2 separate regions of the Homo sapiens genome follow, and region 2 is linked to region 1. The links are contacts of gene promoters, found by promoter capture Hi-C in blood cells and fetal thymus (Javierre and others, 2016). All regions are on one chromosome and are shown on one strand. The core of a region is centred on a gene start or on the middle of the fragment in contact, and the rest is flanking DNA. Distances in the headings are between cores, read along the strand shown.

The links. Contacts are between HindIII fragments. The CHiCAGO score rates a contact against its expected background, and 5 or more counts as called.
Region 2: a fragment that was not itself captured here is called in contact with the fragment with the promoter of LINC01412 in region 1 in 1 of 17 cell types (megakaryocytes); the score reaches 5.1 in megakaryocytes.

The regions. Positions count from the first base shown.
Region 1 is chr2:144,520,561-144,523,441 of GRCh38, forward strand. It overlaps LINC01412 (long intergenic non-protein coding RNA 1412), which reads left to right and starts at 1,308. Exons shown (of 3, transcript NR_110570.1): 1 at 1,308-1,366. It overlaps ZEB2-AS1 (ZEB2 antisense RNA 1), which reads left to right. Exons shown (of 4, transcript NR_040248.2): 4 at 194-339. The HindIII fragment of the contact is 4,746 bases long and covers 1,149-2,881 here.
Region 2 is chr2:146,520,495-146,523,469 of GRCh38, forward strand. No RefSeq gene overlaps it. Among named protein-coding and RNA genes, the nearest start is that of LINC01911, 320 kb to the right of the region's middle. The HindIII fragment of the contact is 3,849 bases long and covers 1-2,975 here.

The sequences.
Region 1 (2,881 bases), core at 58-2,557:
ACAGAACTGGAGAACTCCAAGGGGCGAAAGTTAAAGGGAAAGATCCCGGGTCCTCAATCCAGATAGTCTCTTCTTATACAGATATCTCTAATGACCAGATTTGAGATGCACATCAAATTGTGTAGGTATCTCAGTACAGCTTCTGGAACAAAGTTCTCTGCCCTTTCTCTTATTGTTATTTTTTTCTTTTTAGGTACCAGAGCCAGAAAAAAAAATGCTGCATGGGAGCTGCATCTTAGGGCATGTGTATTAGGGTGTGTGCATGATGAATTTCTGGACTGGATCCCAATATTAAAAAGTAGTTTGGCATTTTAATAAAGGGTCTCTAAGTAAATTAAAATAGAACACTCGGTTGGCCGATCTCTGAATCTCTCTACACCTCGGGGAGACCTCACTACAAAGTAAGGGAGAGTGTGTAGGGAGGCAGGAGGAGAAACGAGAAAGGCCATAGAGAAACTTAGCAGGGAAGGGAGAGCATGATATTAAACGGCATGGGGTCTAAGTTTTGGAGTATATATTTTTTGATATTACAATTAAAGTAAGATTAAAAAGAAAAGACTCCACCTTTGCTCTGAAGGGATTGGTTATGCAAATATGGAAGGGATTTCCTGGAGAATACAGCTTTCTACTGTATGGTTAATTAAATAATCACTCAAAAGCTTCCAACGTGACGCTTCTGTCGTAATCCAATCAGGTTACATAGGTCCTAAACAAGAAAGATATTTTCCACATCTGGAAGTCAGCAATTTAGCAAGTACTGCACATTATTAACCAATTCAGAGCCCACTTCCCAGGGGAATTTTTTTGAAGTTTAAGTGTTCTTAACCAATGCTCTGCTGTTTTGTTAATCAAAAAGCTGGTTTACACTGCACATAATTGGAACTAATATAGAAGTAAATAAAGACAGCCAAATTTGAGGATGCTGAGCACAGGCATTTATCGGAAAAGGAAGAAATCTCCTATCCTCGGATGGTTCAGGCTCAATTTCTTAAATAACTGTGAGACTTTTTTTTTTTTCCTAAAGAGTGAAAGTGCTTGAGAACCTCAGAGCACAAATAAACTTCTAGCCTCACAGCATTTAGGATTCTTCGGAAAGGTAAAGGTGGAGGTGTTAAGAGGACCAGAGAGCTGCCTCACACCAATTTTTAAGCTTTAATATTGTTAAATATGTTACACCCTCCTGTTTCCAGTCTGATGAAATCTGAAACAAATAATACCCTGATCCAACACTATATTAAGATAAACTGCTTTGAACTGTGCTTTGAATGTGTGCCTAAAGCAAGACTTTGAATGCAAGAGTCACTGGCAATTGCACTCAAAGGAGGGACAAGCCACCACATGGGTTGCCACATCCACACTCCCAGAGGTATACGTCTTTGTATTTTGTATTTTTTTTTGCGGGGCGGGGGAGTGGGGTGGGGGTGGTTAATAGCTACCTAGCACGACCACAGCTAGATCTTGTTCTAGGATGCAAGAAAGTAGATTTTCACAGTTGGTTACTCACCTCTTTCCTAATTTAAGTATTTATTATAATGAAAATAGCTGCTGGATAAATTAACTCTCTCCCCCCACCCCATCACAGATAAAGTGTCTATAGAAGAAAGGCATTCAGGATCTTCAGCTTAAAAATTATTAATAAATAAAATCAAAGATTTTCAACATGGGTCAGGCACATTCTTAATTTTATATTTTACATTTCTTTCATTATTATATATCTATACTAAATATATGTGTGACTTATCAAGTTCCTCTTCTGAGATTTAGCACCACTGTTCATGTCCATTTTTCTTCCTCTTCCTTTTTTTCCTCTTTTTTAATTTAAAAGATTGGAATCCAGCTTTCTCTAGACGTTTGCTTTACAGCCACCCTTCCACCACTCCTAAGGAAGAAGGAGCCCTTTGCATAGAGTTATTACAGGCAAGACTCCTCTTCAGGCACCCAGGTAGCCATTGGAGGCTTACAGACCAGACACACACACAAGCATAACCTCAGGTCAAAGGATCCAATCGAATAGCTAACAAAACACTTGTCTTTATTATGTATATTAAATGTCAGGTTACTTAGGATCTGACTTAAAAAAAAAAAAAAAAACCCTAAGTATTTCCATTAAAAACACCTAATCATCTGATTACCCTGGACTCAGGAATTGCTCAAGTGGCAGGAGGCAGTCCCCAACATTTATCACTGGGAGTTCCGACTAGCCAGTATTTGATTTGGGGTGAAAAAGCAGTCTTCCAGGTTCCCATGAAGGTAGATATTTGGATGGTGGCACGGGAAGGGTCTCCGCGAGGGGTGAGCGCTGCGGCTAGGTTGCCTTGCCCCTGGTTCCTGACTGGCACGCCCCTCCCCAGGCATTTGGCCGAGAGAGTTCCCAACGTGGCAGAGGTGATGGGGTCGGGAGGAAGCCGGAATATAAATTTGTTCCGAACACTCCCTCAGTCCGAGGGCCAGTTCGGGGACAATGGGGATCGTGGGATCAGGAGGATGCAGGAGCACAGGACGCAGAGAAAAGTCGAGAGAGGACTGGGGGCTGCTGGCTTTCGGCTCCTCACACAGCAAAATAAGTCCTGCAAATGAATCTCTCCTTCTCTGTCTTCCCCATTAATAATCCACTTCGAGATTAGCGCAGACGAAAGAGATTAAAACAACAGATACACGGAAATGTGAAATAATATTGCAATCAACATTGAAGGGGGAAAAATAATTCTTTGGGGTTTCCATGGGCAAAACAAACTACCTCCCTCAGGATTCCCTCCACCCAGGCAGGGTGAGAAGGATGCACTTTTGTTTTCCAATTCCCTCCAGCCAGGACCTGGTGCCTGTCCCCCCATTCACCTCTCAGTCTGTCAATTTCCTCAACTTTCACAGCCGCTCCCCCCTC
Region 2 (2,975 bases), core at 155-2,654, 2.0 Mb after region 1:
CATAGATTGAAACCCTTTTGTTATCTCATCTTGTTGGTGTTTTTTTTTTGTTTTTGGACATGGTCTCTCTCTGTCACCCAGGCTGGAGTACAGTGGTGCAATCTCAGCTCACTGCAACCTCCGCCTCCCAGGCTTAAGGGATCCCCCCACCTTAGCCTCCTGAGTAGCTGGGACTACAGGCACACACCACCACACCGGACTAATTTTTGTATTTTTGGTAGATACGGGATTTTGCCTTGATGTCCAGGCTTATCTCAAACTCCTGCTCCTGGGCACAAGAGATCCATAACCTTAGCCTCTCAAAGTTTGGAGATTACAGGCATGAGCCGCAGCACCTGGCCTCCCCTTTTTTTAAACATTTTTAGTTCAGGGGTGAATGTACAGGTTGGTTAGAGGTGACCATGTGTCATGGGGATTTGTCGTACAGATTATTTCACCATCCTAGTATTAAGCCTATTACTCATTAGTTATTTTTCCTGATCCTCTCACTCCTCCCAACCTTCTTAAAAAGAAGAAGATTGTTTCCTTTGCGGGGACATGGATGGAACTAGAGGCCATTATCCTTAACAAACTAATACAGGAACAGAAAACCAAATACCGCATGTTCTCACTTATAAGTGGGAGCTAAATAATGAGATCACATGGACACATAGATGGGAACAACACATACTGAGGCTAACCTTCTTTTCAATGGCTGCATAGTATTCCATGGTATATATGTACCACATTTTCTTTATCCATTCTATCATTAATTGGCATTTAGGTTGATTCCGTGTCTCCACTGTTGTGAATAGTGTTGCTAGAAGTATTCCCTGTCTTTCTTTCTAGCTTTCTCGTTCATCTTATCATCTCACAAACAATATATTCCATCTACACTCAACTACTGATGGCCCAATATCCCAACTTGCTGGTAATAATTGTAGTAATGACAGCTGGTACTCACTAGAGTATGCCATATGCAAACATCCTGATGCTAAATAAGGTATATCAAAATTCTAGGAGCTCAGTGATCAATGCCAAGCAAATGAGAAATGATAAAAATTAAGCAAACTACAAACCTAGGAGGTAGGTATTATATTTTCATTTTACAGATAATGAAACTGAGACTCAGGACATTAAATTCTGGCCCTGCCTGCAGAATGAATTACACTGTTTCTGTACAGGGTCAGTGTTGAGCATCTAACACAGCTCAGGATGGGCAAGAACAAATATAGTGGCATCTCAGGTTTCCAAGATTGACACCATTACTTTACTCTAAACTCTTTTCTTTTGCTTTCAATTCTAATTTCAAACCAGAGAACCTTAGCAGTATTAAAGAAAATGATGAGTCTCGCTATTCAAAGTGTGGTCCACAGACGGCAACAACAGCATTACCTGGGAGCTTGTTAGAAATGCAAAATAATCCTGCATCTTCTGAGTTAGAATCTGTATTTTAACAAACCCTCAGGTGATTAGCATGTACATTAAAGTTTGTTAAACACTAATTTGGAGACCTGAAAGATGTTCTAGTTATATTCAGTATTAAAAACCCTCTCTTTTTCCCCAAGTTCTGTCTGTGAAATATCACTTGCTAACATCTTTTACAAGGCTAACCTGGATTACAGCACTCCTTTGAGAGAAAATATACTAATTATTCAAACAGTAAAAATAAAATATTAGTATAAAAGTTAAGGAATGTTTCATTTTTATGGAAAAATAAATGAGGCAAACAGGTAGAAATCAGTTTTGTGGTTTAACAAACAATGTATTGCCTGACTGTAATTTTTTTTCTACTTTGTACTTTATTTTCCCTGAAATTCACTTCTATATTAAATCTAAACCTAGTCACATGTAGTTAACAGCAGATGGGTTCCTCAATCAAACTATTAGAAGAAAAGCAAGAAACTTTCTTTTGGACATCGGAACATAAATTCAAATAACTGAAAATCAGCTAAGAGGATTTTACCACAGAAGACAATGGGTATTATTTAAATATTTTCAACATCATTTTCTTTTCAAAGTAGATGGAATGTGAATTAAACTTCATTTTAACATCTAAATCATATCTTTTTCTTTCAAAGTGTCTGTGAAAAAAAAAAGTTCCTGCATGCATTATTTGTAATAGGGACATGCTCACCTATAAACTGATGTAAAACGTGTCCCTTTTTGGCTGTGACTGCCTAAGTAATGAGGCAATGGAGAGAGTAAAATTTCCCATTCCCACACCCGTCACAGGCACCAGCATTGACTTCACACAGGCTCTTCTTAACTGTGAACCTTTCCTGGGACTAAACATGCACAATGCATGAGATTGTATATTTGCTCTTCAATTCTTTAGTTTTTGTAAATAAAAATGTCCTGCAGCGTTTAGCTTTTGTTCATTTTAGATACAACTGTAAAAGTGGAAAATAACATAATTTCATTCAACTTATAGTAGGTTCTGCTTGCTGGAAAATAATACTGTTGTTCAATTGAATCAGTCCTTCAAAGTAATCAAACCAGCTAAGTTCCTAGAATATTCCATAAGAGTAAAATTGTTTTCTAATCTTCACTGAGATCCTATTCAATAAGGCCATTTTCTTATCAAACTATACATTTGAGAACAAAATATCACATTTTAACAGGTACTATAAACATTTTAATTCTGTTAGGGCCAAAATAATGATAAACATGGATAATAGTAATAATCTCTTTCCCCAAAGAGTCTTAGAAATCCTAATTTACTGACTGGTAGCTACTTTCACTAAGTAGAAATACAGTAATTTAATAATCTTACCATAGCAGTTTTCACAGAAGAAAATTAACTAATTCATTATTGCTTATAATTTGCTGAGGCATAGCTGCCATATTTGTAAAATCAGCAGGTTCTGAAAAAAAATACAAGTTTTTAAATGAATGTTCAATTTTCCCCTAAACACATAAATGATACAATTACTTAGCTCCCTCTAGTGCCAATTTCTAATATAAACTTAATTATAATAACTGTATTCACCATG